Regions from separate parts of the Homo sapiens genome. Here regions 2, 3 and 4 are each linked to region 1. Evidence: promoter capture Hi-C in 16 types of primary human blood cells and fetal thymus (Javierre and others, 2016). All regions are on one chromosome and are shown on one strand. Each heading gives the region's core, a stretch centred on a gene start or on the middle of the fragment in contact. The rest is flanking DNA. Distances are from core to core; before and after follow the strand shown. Region 1 holds the start of PUS7 (pseudouridine synthase 7). Region 2 overlaps SRPK2 (SRSF protein kinase 2). Region 3 overlaps SRPK2 (SRSF protein kinase 2). Region 4 overlaps SRPK2 (SRSF protein kinase 2).

What was found. Contacts are between HindIII fragments. The CHiCAGO score rates a contact against its expected background, and 5 or more counts as called.
Region 2: a contact is called between a fragment that was not itself captured here and the fragment with the promoter of PUS7 in region 1, in 2 of 17 cell types (naive B cells and total B cells). The highest score is 7.7, in naive B cells.
Region 3: a fragment that was not itself captured here is called in contact with the fragment with the promoter of PUS7 in region 1 in 1 of 17 cell types (naive B cells); the score reaches 5.4 in naive B cells.
Region 4: a contact is called between a fragment that was not itself captured here and the fragment with the promoter of PUS7 in region 1, in 1 of 17 cell types (neutrophils). The highest score is 7.7, in neutrophils.

Annotation. Positions count from the first base shown.
Region 1 is chr7:105,520,282-105,523,897 of GRCh38, reverse strand. It overlaps PUS7 (pseudouridine synthase 7), which reads left to right and starts at 1,627. Exons shown (of 16, transcript NM_019042.5): 1 at 1,627-1,846. RefSeq lists enhancers at 362-862, 2,146-2,800, 3,115-3,616 and silencers at 1,499-2,248, 2,458-2,603. The HindIII fragment of the contact is 10,027 bases long and covers 1-3,616 here.
Region 2 is chr7:105,146,549-105,150,164 of GRCh38, reverse strand. It overlaps SRPK2 (SRSF protein kinase 2), which reads left to right. Exons shown (of 16, transcript NM_182692.3): 8 at 3,507-3,616. Among named protein-coding and RNA genes, the nearest start is that of KMT2E, 130 kb to the right of the region's middle. The HindIII fragment of the contact is 5,598 bases long and covers 1-3,616 here.
Region 3 is chr7:105,167,268-105,170,883 of GRCh38, reverse strand. SRPK2 (SRSF protein kinase 2) reads left to right here. Exons shown (of 16, transcript NM_182692.3): 4 at 1,619-1,727; 5 at 2,789-2,876; 6 at 3,420-3,507. Among named protein-coding and RNA genes, the nearest start is that of KMT2E, 150 kb to the right of the region's middle. The HindIII fragment of the contact is 677 bases long and covers 1,683-2,359 here.
Region 4 is chr7:105,191,982-105,195,597 of GRCh38, reverse strand. All of the region lies in intron 3 of SRPK2 (SRSF protein kinase 2), which reads left to right. LOC124901718 (a long non-coding RNA gene) reads left to right here. Exons shown (of 2, transcript XR_007060466.1): 2 at 1-3,171. Among named protein-coding and RNA genes, the nearest start is that of KMT2E, 180 kb to the right of the region's middle. The HindIII fragment of the contact is 4,264 bases long and covers 1-3,616 here.

The sequences.
Region 1 (3,616 bases), core at 378-2,877:
TGTAATTGCTGAATTGTATGGTAATAATATATTTCTTTTTTTTTTTTTGAGACAGAGTTTCCATCTTGTTGCCCAAGCTAGAGTGCAATGGTGCGATCTCAGCTCACTGCAACCTCCGCCTCCTGAGTTCAAGCGATTCTCCTGCCTCAGCCTCCCAAGTAGCTGGGATTACAGGCGCGTGCCACCACGTCTGGGTAATTTTTTGTATTTTTAGTAGAGACGGGGTTTCACCATGTTGGCCAGGCTGGTCTCAAACTCCTGACCTCATGATCCGCCCACCTCGGCCTCCCAAAGTGCTGGGATTACAGGCGTGAGCCACTGCGCCCGGCCGGTAATAGTATATTTCATTGTGTAAAAAACAAAACAAAAAAACAAATTGGGCAGGGCATGGTGGCTCATGCCTATAATCCCAGTACTTTGGGAGGCCTAGGCAGGCAAATCACTTGAGGTCAGGAGTTCAAGGCCAACAGGCAAAAACCCCGTCAAAAAAATTAGTCTGGCATGATGTCAAGCACTCGTAGGCCCAGCTACTCGGGAGGCTGATGCAGGAGAATCGCTTGAACCCTGCAACAGAGTGAGACTCTCTCTCAAACAAAATAAAACAAAACGGAAAAACTATTAGAGGCTGGGAGCGGTGGCTCACGCCTGTAATCTCAACACAGAGGCGGAGGCGGGCGGATCACGAAGTCAAGAGTTCGAGACCAGCCTGGCCAACATAGTGAAACCCCGTACTCTACTAAAAATACAAAAAATAAGCCGGGCATGGTGGCGTGCGCCAGTAATCCCAGCTACTCGGGAGGCTGAGGCAGGAGAATCGCTTGAACCCGGGTGGCGGAGGTTGCGGTGAGCAGCGATCGCGCCATTGCACTCCAGCCTGGGCGACAGAGCAAGACTCCGTCTCAAAAAACAAACAAACAAACAAAAAGCAAAAAAACTATTAGAGCCTGGGCAACATAGTGAAATCTTGTCTCTACCCCCCACCCCCAAAAAAATTAGCCTGGGTGCGGTGGGATGCACCTGTAGTCCCAGCTACTTGGGATACTGAAGTGGGAGGATTGCTTGAGCCTGGGAGGTCGAGGCTGCAGTGAACTGTGTTCACGCCACCGCACTCCAGCCTGTGCGACAGAGCGAGACTCTGTCAAAACCAAACCAAACCAAAACAAAAAAAACCTATGATCCGGTTTCTTGAAGCAGATCCTATGGCAAGCCATCAAGCCAGAGCGGTAAGAAGTAGGAAGATGGTGCTTTTAGATCCACTACATTCCCAGGATCAAATGTAGAACAATATTTAGTCCCTAAAGTGATTCTCTTTCCATTATTGTCAACTGCGTGGTCGGTGCAACGTGAAAGGGCCACAACTATGTGAAGGAAACACTTAGAATATAACACCAAAGGAGGCAATCGCTGCCTTAGACTTCCTAAAGATCTAAAGAACTCTTAGATGCTTGGTGAAATCGCTCTCTGCCGCTGGTGCGACTCAGGCGCGGTCGCGAGGAAGGTCCAGGGTGAACGCGCGTAGGCTGGGAGTCCGCGTTGGGGCGCTCCCTGGCTTGCAGGCCGCTCCGAGTGGGTGGGCCGGGGGCGGGGCCGGCGGCAGGGAGCGGACTCCGCCCCCGGGGCGGGTCCAGTCGGGCCGCGGCGCGTCGCTGCGCCGCACGTGTGCGAGCCCGGCCGCCGGTGAGTCGGCTGGAGCGCATCTGGTCCTCCGCGCGGAAAGCGCTGCTTTTGCCTGGCCGCCCTAGCCGCTGGCTCATCCAAGTGGCCTTCGCCGCTCTCTTGCGTCCCAACCAGAGCGCTGGCCACCTCGCCGCCCAGCTCACGCCGCGCCCGCGCTCCCAGGCTCCGGGTAAGTGCGCGGCCTCCCCGCGGCCGCCGGGGCTCCTCGGCCTGGCCCTGGCCCCAGCCCCAGCCCCAGGGCCCCGCCCCAAGAGGCAGTGCGGACTGGGAAGGCGGACTGGGAAGGCGGCCCCGCAGTGGTCAGAGCCCGCGGCGCCTCCATTATGGATCGTGCCAGCGGGAGCACGGTTGGAACCCAGTGGGTCCTGCGCTTCGGCGGTGCAGGCGCCGCTCTCCGCTCCCCGCTCCCCGCTCCGCTCTGCCCGGCCAGTCGTCCGGAGGCGCCGCGCCCGAGCGCTCCCCTCCTCCCCGCGCGGCGCTGTCCCCCGGGGGCCCCCTTCCCACTCCTCCCTTTCTTTGCCCCGGACGCTCCCTAAACTCTTGTCCCTCCGTCAGAGGAACACTGGCCCTGAAGCCCTTCACGGTGCCACTGCTTCGCCGCGCCTGCCTTCTGTGGGTCCAGCCCACGTGTTCCACCCCTGTGTCCTGCGTCGCCGCTCACTGGGAGCCTACTAGGCGCCACGCGGGCTCTGGGGACTGCTTGCTTTGTATGCATTTCCCAGAGTAGGAGTGGACGGGCTGCAGACTCAGAGTGCTTTCTCCAGCCCTCAAGCTGGGTGAATGCTTAACGAGTGGATGGAGGTGCTGCTGTGCAAGCTGAAATTCGAGTCCTCCTCGTCAGCCCTGCGCAGAGGTGTTTAGAAGCACACCTTCGTTGCCTGCCGAGTAGGGTTGGCAAAGAGTTTAGTTTTTAAAATATTTGGTCCCGTCAGACTACTTTTTTTTTCCATTCCAAAAATAAAGGGTTACTAAGGTTCCCTCCCCCCCATCCCCAAGCCTCTAATCATCTATGAAATGACTATGCCCCATTGGCCTGGGGGAGCCTCGACTATTGAGGGATCTGTCGAAAATCAGACTGTACAACACTATTGAAAAGGGGTTGGTTAGGCAATTGTTAGGTTCAAACATTAGGAAAGTAGCCAACAGTACGTACTTAACAACTCCTTGTGAACATGTTTTTGGTTTTTTTATTTTTATTTTTTTAATTTTTTTGAGACAGAATTTTGCTCTTGTTGCCCAGGCTGGAGTGCAGTTGCGTGATCATCGCTCACTGCAGCCTTGAACTCCTGGGCTCAAGCAATCCTCTCACCTCAGCCTCCCAAGTAGCTGGGACTATAGGCATGTGCCACCACACAGGGTCTCGCTGTGTTGCCCAGCCTGGCCTCAAACTCCTGACCTTAAGCAATCCTCCTGCTTTGACCTCCCAAAGTGCTGGAATTACAGGCTTGAGCAACCACACTCGGCCTTGAACATATCTTTGTTTTTTGATTTATTTTTTTTAGACGGAGTCTCACTCCATCACCCAGGCTGGAGTGCAATGGCACGATCTTGGCTCACTGCAACCTCAGCCTCCTGGGTTCAAGCGATTCTCCTGCCTCAGCCTCCGGAGTAGCTGGGATTACATGTGCACGCCACCATGCCCAGCTAATTTTTGTATTTTTATTTATTTATTTATTTATTTATTTATTTATTTATTTATTTTGAGACAGTCTCGCTCTGTCGCCCACATGTATTGCAGAGGCAGCACCTCCATCCACTCGTTAAGCATTCACCCAGCTTGAGGGCTGGAGATGTATTGCAGTGGCGCGATCTCGGCTCACTGCAGGCTCCGCCTCCCGGGTTCACGCCATTCTCCTGCCTCAGCCTCCCGAGTAGCTGGGACTACAGGCGCCCGCCACCACGCCCGGCTAATTTTTTATATTTTTAGTAGAGGCGGGGT
Region 2 (3,616 bases), core at 314-2,813, 370 kb after region 1:
ATGTCTTAAAATCTTATCCTAGTTTTATCTACTTCACTGGTACTTACTAGGAACTTGTCAGTATCTTATTAAATCATATTTGCCATGCCCATGATTCATCTTGGTTTTTTTTTTGGCCAATTACCCCACCCGTCATACTCATTTCCTGTCCTGAATTGGTAACCTCTGTGAGGATATGAGGACTGTAAGCAACATGAAGCCTGGGAGCTTTTATATATCAAACACCTGGAATAATGGCATGTGATAGGAGCTCAGGCGATGCACATTCAGTGAATTTATGTAAAAATACTCTGTAAGGTAAAGTTGTTTTAAATGTTTGTAGGGATTTTGATCGTTTTTAAGAGGTATTCCTGTTTTCATTTTCCTTGTAAAATCTTTGTTCCCTCTCACTTCATAATGCTACTTTAACTTCTACTAACAGTAGGCTAACTACTAATAGCTTACTGTTGATCAGATGCCTTCCACTGTCGATTAAACTGGGAATATTTCAGTGTTGGATTGAAGGAGTGGCCTGCCCCTCCACACCTGTGGGTATTTCTAGTCGGGTGGGACGAGAGACTGAGAAAAGAAATAAGACACAGAGACAAAGTATAGAGAAACAACAGTGGGCCCAGGGGACTGGCGCCCAGCATACCAAGGACCTGCACCGGCACCGGTCTCTGAGTTCCCTCAGTTTTTATTGATTATTATCTTCATTATTTCAGCAAAAAGGAATGTAGTAGGAGGGCAGGGTGATAATAAGGAGAAGGTCAGCAACAAACACGTGAGCAATAGAATCTATGTCATAATTAAGTTCAAGGGAAGGTACTATGACTGGACGTGCACGTACACCAGATTTATGTTTCTCTCCACCCAAACATCTTAGTGGAGTAAAGAATAACAAGGCAGCATTACTGCAAACATGTCTCACCTCCCACCATAGGGCGGTTTTTCTCTCATCTGAGAATTGAACAAATGTATAATCGGGTTTTATACCGAGACATTCAGTTCCCAGGGGCAGGCAGGAGACAGTGGCCTTCCTCTATCTCAACTGCAAGAGGCTTTCCTCTTTTACTAATCCATCTCAGCACAGACCCTTTATGGGTGTTGGGCTGGGGGACGGTCAGGTCTTTCTCATCCCACGAGGCCATATTTCAGACTATCACATGGGGAGAAACCTTGGACAATACCCAGCTTTCAAGGGCAGAGGTCCCTGCAGCTTTCCACAGTGCATTGTGCCCCTGGTTTATTGAGACTAGAGAATGGCGATGACTTTTACCAAGTATACTGCTTGTAAACATTTTGTTAACAAGGCATGTCCTGCAGAGCCCTGGATCCCTTAAACCTTGATTTCATATAACACATGTTTTTGTGAGCTCCAGGTTGGGTCAAAGTGGCTGGAGCAAAGTGGCTGGGGCAAAGCTACAAATTAACAACATCTCAGCAAAGCAGTTGTTTAAAGTACAGGTCTTTTTCAAAATGGAGTCTCTTATGTCTTTCCTTTCTACATAGACACAGTAACAGTCGGATCTCTCTTTTCCCTACATTGGATGATGTGAAACATATAACACTTCCTGTCTCTTGTGAACAAAATGCCTATTCAATTCATTGTTTGAATGGTCATTGATGTAATATTTGCTTAACATTTGGAATTTCTAATGCTTATATGAGAACATGATCTGTTTTGTAAAAATAAATTTTGTTTATGGAAATAATTGAAAAAATTATTCTCCAGTGGAAATAATTATAGAAAAACACTGACCTTGTATTTAGGTCACTGACACTGTAAGTTTTTGATTGTTTTAATATGAGAAATATGAATATCTTGGTTCATCACTTTCTTTTAGTATAATGCTGTAGGGTTGTCTAGATACCAAGGCTATTTTCTATTTAAATCAAGCCCCCCTTCTCTTGCAGTGTTAAAAATGTATGGACATCATTAGCCATCAGGGAAATGTAGATCAAAACTACAACAAGATACTTCATATCCACTTGGGTGGATAAAGTAAAAAACGATAGTAAGTGTTGTTCAGGGCGAAGAATTGGAACCCTCATACATTGGTGATAGGAATGTAAAATGGTGCAGCCACTGTGGAAGACACTTTGGCAGTTCATCAAAAAGCTAAATATAGAGGCACCATATGACCTAAGTACGGTAACTCCTAGGTATATACCTCCCCTCAAAAAAAGTATGTTCACACAAAAATGTATACACGAGTGTGAATAGCAGTATTATTTTTATAGCCCCTAAAGTGAAAATAACCCAAATGTTCATGAGGTGAAGGGATAAACACAATGTTGTATCTCCATACAGTGGAATACTGTTTGCCAATAAGAATAAGCGAAGTACTAATACATGCTGCACAAGAGTCAAACTTGAAAACATTATGCCAGTTACAAAAAAATACTTTATATGATTCCATTTATAGGAAATGTCCAGAATCAGCAAGTAGATTAGTGGTTGCTAAGGGTTAGAAGGGGTAGGAGAGAGATGGGAAGTGAATGCTGATGAATATGTTGTTTCTTTTTGGAGCAATGAAAATGTTGTCATTTAAATAGTGGTGGTAGTTGCCGTGTGTGGTGGCTCACGCCTGTAATCCCAGTACTTTGGGAGGTCGAGACAGGTGGATCACAAGGTCAGGAGTTCGAGACCACTGGCCAATATGGTAAAACCCCGTCTCTACTAAAAATACAAAAAAAATTAGCCAGGCGTGGTGGCATACGCCTGTAATCCCAGCTGCTTGGGAGGCTGAGGCAGGAGAATTGCTTGAACCTGGGAGGCGGAGGTTGCAGTGAGCCAAGATTGTGCCACTGCACTCCAGCCTGGGTGACAGAGCGAGACTCTGTCTCAAAAAATAAATACATAAAAAATTTAAAAAATAAATAGTAATGATAGTCGCACATCTAAAATCCATTGAATTGTATACCTAAAGGGGTCAATTGTATGATACATGAATTACTAGCCTACTGTTGATCAGAATCCTTAATGATCACATGACCAATTAACATGTATTTTGTATGTGTGTTATATAGCATATTTTTACAACAAAGTAAGCTAGAGAAAAGAATGTTAAGACAATCATAAAGAAGAGAAAATATACTTACTATTCATTAAGTGGATAGATCATATGAAGTAGATGATCATAAAGGTCTTCATCCTCATTATCTTCGCGTTGAGTAGGCTGAGGGGTTGGTCTTGCTGTCTCAGGAGTGGCAGAGGTGGAAGACAATCTGTGTATAAGGGAACCCATGCAGTTCAAACCTGTGTTGTTCAAGGTTCAACTGTATGTAGATGCATTTGCTTCCACGAGCATAAATAATCTCTGAAATTATACACACTGGTTGCTTATGGAAAGGAGAGCTGGATTCCAATGTGGGTAGGCATGGGAGGGAGATTTTTACTAAATATCCTTTTGTGTTTATCAAACTTTGTACCCTGGCATTGTATTACATGTTTTTCAAATAAATAAAAGTTATATAATGAGATATTAATAGCTTATCTTCTCTCTTGATTTTACTATATCCAGGTCCTTCAAGGGTTAGATTACTTACACAGTAAGTGCAAGATCATTCATACTGACATAAAGCCGGAAAATATCTTGATGTGTGTGGATGATGCATATGTGAGAAGAATGGC
Region 3 (3,616 bases), core at 772-3,271, 350 kb after region 1:
CTTTCTTTCTTTCTTTCTTTCTTTCTTTCTTTCTTTCTTTCTTTCTTCCTTTCTTTCTCTTTCTCTCCCTCTCTCTCTCCCTCCCTCCCTCCCTCCCTCCCGTCCTTCCTTCCTTCCTTCCTTCCTTCCTTCCTTCCTCCCTTTCTTCCCTTTCTTTCCTTTTCTTTCTTTCTTGTCTTTCTTGTCTTTCTTGGTGGAGTCTCACTCTGTAACCCAGGCTGGAGTGCAGTGGCTTGATCTTGGCTCACTGTAACCTCTGCTTCCTGGGTTCAAGCAATTCTTCTTCATCAGCCTCCCGAGTAGCTGGGATTACAGGAGTTCGCCAGCACACCTGACTAATTTTTTGTATTTTTAGTAGAGATGGGGTTTCACCGTGTTGGCCAGGCTGGTCTTGAACTCCAGACCTCAGGTGATCTGCCCGCCTTGGCCTCCCAAAGTGCTGGGATTACAGGTGTGAGCCACCGTGCCCGGCCTCATTTCTTCATTTGTGAGGAATGTTTCCAGGCAGGAGTTAGGAGTTGGCAGAAGAGTGATGAGAGGAACAAGCCCTGTTAGAGGGTAAATTAAGACATCATTGTACAGTTTCTAGTTATTAATAAACCATTAATGTATGCAGAATTATACAGAGTAAACATTGTTTATTTTGGTCAGTTTTCTTGCACATATCCAAAAAGATTTGAATTTAACTTGTTTAGGAGAAAAAAAGTCTTTAAATACCAAGAGCTGGTATGTGCATAACGTACACACCTAGATTGAAATACAGAACCTTGGCCAGGTGTGGTGGCTCATGCCTATAATCCCAGCACTTTGGGAGGGGAGATGTGCGGATTGTTTGAGCCTAGGAGTTCAAGACCAACCTGGGTAATGTGGTGAAACCCTGTCCCTACAAAAAATACAAAAATTAGCTGGGCATGGTGGTGTGTGCCTGTAGTTCCAGCTACCTGGGAGGCTGAGGTGGGAGGACCTCTTCAGCCTGGGAATCAGAGGTTGCATTGAGCTGAGATCATGCCATTGCACTCCAGTCTAGACAACAGAGTGAGACCCTGTCTTAAAAATAAATAAGTAAATAGAGAACCTCAAGTTATCATTACGGTGTGCTAGATGGTTCATTGCCTCTTTAAATTAAATTAAAACAAGAAGTCTAATAGGAATTCATAGAACACTTTTTGGTCAGGCTGTCTGGATTGCAGTCGCACACTTTTCACTCAGGCTCATTGCAGCCTCCACCTCCCAGTTTCAAGTGATTCTCTCCCCTCAGCCTCCTAAGTAGCTGGGATTACAGGTGCTCGCCACCATGCCCTGCTGATTTTTGTATTTTTCGTAGAGACTGGATTTCACCATGTTGGCCAGGCTGGTCTCGTACTCCTGATCTGAAATGATCCACCTGCCTTGGCCTCCCAAAGTGCTGAGATTACAGGTGTAAGCCACCACATCCAGCCAACACTTTTTCTTGTTGAAAGATATTCCTGAAAAAAATGTTGTATTATTAAACATGTTTTAGTCTGCATGTATTATGTAGAGCTTTCTTTAATGACATCAAGAATGACAAAAGAGATGAAATGTTTATTACTACTTTTCGAATATTTTGAATTTTTTTCTTTCTTTCTTGTTTTTTAAGGTGGATATCATCCAGTGAAAATTGGAGACCTCTTCAATGGCCGGTATCATGTTATTAGAAAGCTTGGATGGGGGCACTTCTCTACTGTCTGGCTGTGCTGGGATATGCAGTAAGTGTTCTTTGTCATTTGTGCATTTGTTTCCTGGAGTAGTTCAACATCTGTGTTCTAAGAAGGTATGGCTGAGGGTCACCACTGCTTTGTTGAGGTATGTGAAGTGCTTAGCACAGGCCTGCCTCAGCTGGCTAGATTCCTTCCTGCCCCCTGCCTTAGTTTGAAGTTCATTTGAAATCTTAAAATATTACTTGCTTCCAGCTTTATTTCAAAGTTAATTCATTGAAATTGTTTTACACTGGGATTATATTATTTTTCTAGTAATTCATCCATATCAGACAAACATAATGTATAGTATAGGCGTTTCAAATCAGTCATTTTTAACTTTTCAAAGCCATGACCCATAGTAAGAAACTTCATTGCTACTCCATACACACACACACACACACACACACACACACACACACATTTGGTGCGTGTGTGTGTGTGTGTGTACTGAAACAAAAGTGTTAAAAGAGAATGGTTTTCACTATTAGGTTGGTGTGTAATATTCGTGATAACTCTGATGTTTATCTAGTCTTATTTTAATTAGGGAAAAAACAAAACAAAACATAAAAGAGATTGTCTTGACCCATACTACTATTTAATGTGGCCCCACCATTTGAAAAGTACTATTTTAAAGGAAAGCTTATGTTTCTGTGTATTGGATAGATCTCATTACAAGTTGAATATCCCTTATCTGAAATGCTTTGAGACCAGAAGTGTTTTGGATTTTGGAATATTTGTGTATATACACAATGACCTATCTTGGAGATGTGACCCAGATCTAAACACAAAATTCATTATATTTCATATACACCATATACACATACCCTGAAGGCAATTTTATACGATATTTTAAATAATCTTGTGCAACATGCAAATCTTTTACTGAGTTTTGATTGCAGTCAGAGGTGGAATTTTACACTGTGGCATCGTGTTGACACACTCATAATGTTTTAGGTTTTGGCGCATTTTGGATTTTACATTTTCCAATTAGGGATGCTCAACCTGGATACCAGTGATTCTTTCTACTGATAATATAGATAAATAGACTCTTTTTTTGTTTTTTCTTTTAGGGGGAAAAGATTTGTTGCAATGAAAGTTGTAAAAAGTGCCCAGCATTATACGGAGACAGCCTTGGATGAAATAAAATTGCTCAAATGTGTAAGTACTTTAAAAATGTGAATGATATAAGAAAACTTAATGACTTAAAATTTTACAGAAAGATTTTTCTGGGTAATACTAAATTAAAGTCAAGTTTGGCTGGGCACGGTGGCTCATGCCTATAATCTCAGCACTTTGGGAGGCCAAAGCGAGCAGATCACTTGAGGTCAAGAGTTCGAGACCAGCCTGGCAAACACGGTGAAACCCCATCTCTGCTAAAAATATAAAAAATAGCCAGGCATGGTGGTGGGCACCTGTAATCTCAGCTCCTTGGGAGGCTGAGGCATGAGTATCACTTGAACCTGGGAGGCAGAGGTTGCAGTGAGCCGAGATCGTACCACTGCACTCCAGACTGGGCGATAGAGCAAGACTCTGTCTCAAAAAATAAATAAATAAATAAATAAATAAAGTTTATTTTTTATAACTTTGTGATGAATTTTTTATTTTAAAATATACTTTTATTTAAACAGTATTGGTGTTATAATGGGAAAACATGCTTTGTCTCAAACTCCTGTGTTCTTGCATTCATTTTTCTTGGCATAGGTTCGAGAAAGTGATCCCAGTGACCCAAACAAAGACATGGTGGTCCAGCTCATTGACGACTTCAAGATTTCAGGCATGAATGGGATACGTATCCTTTACTTCCTGATTTATTTGTATTTTTACCTTTTAAAAAATGAAAATATTTCAAGCTCCTATAATCTCTGTTTACTGCTGTATCACCTTCAACATAAACACTC
Region 4 (3,616 bases), core at 415-2,914, 330 kb after region 1:
AGCCCTAACTGCTTGTGTTTTCCTAACAAATGGGGAAACTAAAAATTGATGGTAGAAGATTAGGTTTAAAAGCAGTTTGGGAGCATCATGTAGAGGATAGAGATGAGTGTGAGAAATTTGTGGTGAAGTAACTTTAAAGCATCACTTCAAAATATTACCAAAAATCCCCACAGAAAACCGAAAGAAAGCAGAGTAGAAACAGAATCCTGGTGTTATAATCTCTCCTCTTTTTACAAAACATATTTAGCAGGCCGGGCATGGTGGCCCACGCCTGTAATCCCAGCACTTTGGGAGGCCGAGGTGGGCAGATCACGAGGTCAGGAGATTGAGGCCATCCTGGCCAACATATCGAAGCCCTGTCTCTACTAAAGATACAAAAAATTAGCCGGGCACGGTGGCACGCGCCTGTAGTCCCAGCTCCTCGGGAGGCGGAGGCAGGAGAATCACTTCAACGTGGGAGGCGGAGGTTGCAATGAGTTGAGATTGCGCCACTGCACTCCAGCCTGGGCGATAGAACGAGACTCTGTCTCAAAAAAATAAAAACAAAAAATAAAAATATATTTAGCAAAAGAGCAGTGCCAAAATGTCAGCAGTATGTGGTAGGCCTGAGGTGTTTTTTTGAAATATACTTTTATCTTGTTGCTGCAGCACCATTTATCGAGAAGACTTGTTCCCCCACCTATTCAGTTGCTTGCCTTTGTCCATCAGTAGACAGAATGTATGGGGGTTTGTTTGTGGACTCCATCTGCTCCATCCCTCTTTTGGTCAATGCTTGCTCTAAAGGTCTGGTTACTATAGCTTTGTATAGCATGCCTTGAATGGGTAGTGTCAGTCTTCCAGCTTTGTGCTTCTCTTCCAGGATTGTTTTGACCTGTCTCGATCCTTTGCATTTTGTATAAATTCAGAGTCAGCTTATACATATAAATTTTAGATACGCCTTAATAATATTGAATCTTCCAACCCATTAACATGGTATTGTGTCTGTTTATTTAGGTCTTTATTGTTCTCAGAAATGTTTTGTAGTTTTTGGTGTGGTTTTGATGGGTTATAGAAATGTAACTGATTCTTATGCACCAACCACGTGGCCTGTAACTATGCTGTTTGCTTATTTATTAGTGTTTGTGCATGTGTAAATTTCTCTAGGTTTTCTCTACACACAATCATTTCATCATTTCAGGGCAAATGGAGGTTTTTCTTCTTCCTTATGATTCTTTATAAATTATTATTCTTTTTTGCCTCATTCTTTTATGCATGAGGTTGAATAGAAGTGGTAAGAATAGACATCTCCCTTGTCTTGTTTCTAATCTTACAGTGAATATGTAGTTTTTTTTTAGATACCTTTATCAGGTTGAGATGGATCATATATTTAAATATAAAGTTAAAACTGTAAAGTTTCTAGCAAAAAGTAAGAGAATATCTTCACAACCTTGGGAGTAGGGAAGGATTTATTAGAGAGCATATAAGAAACATTAACTATAAAATAAAAAATTAATTAGACTTAATCAAAATTAAAAACTGTTCCTGATTAAAAGACATTTTTAAAAATGAAAAGACCAGCTTCAGACTGGGAGAAGCTCTTTGCAATACATTTACCTGACAAAGAATGTGACTGGGAGGGAACTTCAAGAGTGAGATTTTGGAAAAATGTTCTGTATATTGATTAGAGTATATGTATTTGTCAAAAAGCAGGGAATCGTACACATAAAACCTTTGACTTTCATTGCATGTAAATATCTGAATTTTAAAAAACATTGATAGTAGCTAGTTACATCTGGATTGTAGGGTTTTGGTTTTTGTCTTCTTTACCTCTTTGTATTGGTTTTCTTTGTTTTCTGCATTGAGCATATATTTCTTTGTAAATACAGAAGAATATGTGCTTTTACTGCTGAAAGAAATCATAGACGACACAAACAAATGGAAACACATCCCATGCTCATAGGTGGGTAGAATCAGTATTGCGAAAATGACCATACTGCCGAAAGCAGTCTACAAATTCGGTGCAATTCCCATCAAAGTACTACCGTCATTCTTCACAGAACTAGAAAAAACCATCCTAAAATTCACATGGAACCGAAAAAGAGTCTGCATAGTCAAAGCAAGACTAAGCAAAAAGAGAAAATTTGAAGGCATCACATTACCTGATTTCAAACTGTACTGTAAGAGCACAGTCACCAAAACAGCATGGTACTGGTATAAAAATAGGCACATAGACCAGTGGAACAGAATAGAGAACTGAGAAATAAACCCAAATACTTACAGCCAACTGATCTTTGACAAAGCAAACAAAAAAGGGAACAGACACCCTATTCAACAAATGGTGCTGGGAAAACTGGCAAGCCATCTGTAAGAGAATGAAACTGGATCCTCATTTCATACCTTAAACAAAAATCAACTCAAGATGGATCAAGGACTTAAATCTAAGACCTGAAACTATAAACATTATTAGAAGGTAACATCGGAAAAATCCTTCTAGACATTGGCTTAGGCAAGGATTTCATGATCAAGAACCTAAATGCAAATGTGATCAAAACAAAGTTAAATACCTGGAACTTAATTAAACTAAAGAGCTTTTACACAGCAAAAGGAAGAGTCAGCAGAGTAAACAGACAACCGAAAGCGTAGGAGAAAATCTTCACAATCTATACATCCGACAAAGGACTAATATCCAGAAACTACAATGAACTCAAATTAGCAAGGAAAAAAAAATCCCATGAAAAAGTGGGCTAAGGACATGAATAGACAGTTCTCCAAAGAAGATATACAGATGGCCAATAGACTATGAAAAAATGCTCAACATCACTAATGATCAGGGAAATGCAAATCAAAATCACAATGCAATACCACTTTACTCCTGCAAGAATGTCCATAATCAAAAAATCAAAAAATAATAGATGTTAGCATGGATGCAGTGAAAAGGGAACACTTCTACACTGCTGGTGGGAATGTACAGTAGTACAGCCACTATGGAAACCAGTGTGGAGATTCCGTAAAGAACTAAAAGTAGAACTACCATTGATCCAGCAATCCCACTAACTGAGTATCTACCTAGAGGAAAATAAGTCGTTATATAAAAAAGTTACTTGCTCATGCATGTTTATAGCAGCACAATTCACAATTGCAAAAATGTGGAACCAACCCAAATGTCCCTCAATAAATGAGTGGATAAAGAAACTGTGGTGTGTGTGGAGTACTTCTCAACCATAAAAAGTAATGAATTTTGGAGCAACCTGGATAGGATTGGAGACTCTATTATTCTAATTGAAGTAACTCAGGAATGGAAGACCAGACATCCTATGTTCTCTCACTCATAAGTGGGAGCTAAGCTATGAGGATGCAAAGGCATAAGAATGACACTGTAGACTTTGGGGACTCAGGGGGAAAGGGTAGGAAAGGGATGAGGGACAAAAGACTACAGACTGGGTTCAGTGTATACTCTATCGGTGATGGGTGCACCAAAATCTCACAAATCACCACTAAAGAACTTACTCATGTAACCAAACACCACCTGTTCCCCCAAAACTTATGGAAATTAAAAAAAAAAAAAAAAGCAGAAGCAGAAGTGGAGCTTTTAAAAGGAATAAGTGGACCAGGCATGGTGGCTTACACCTGTAATCCT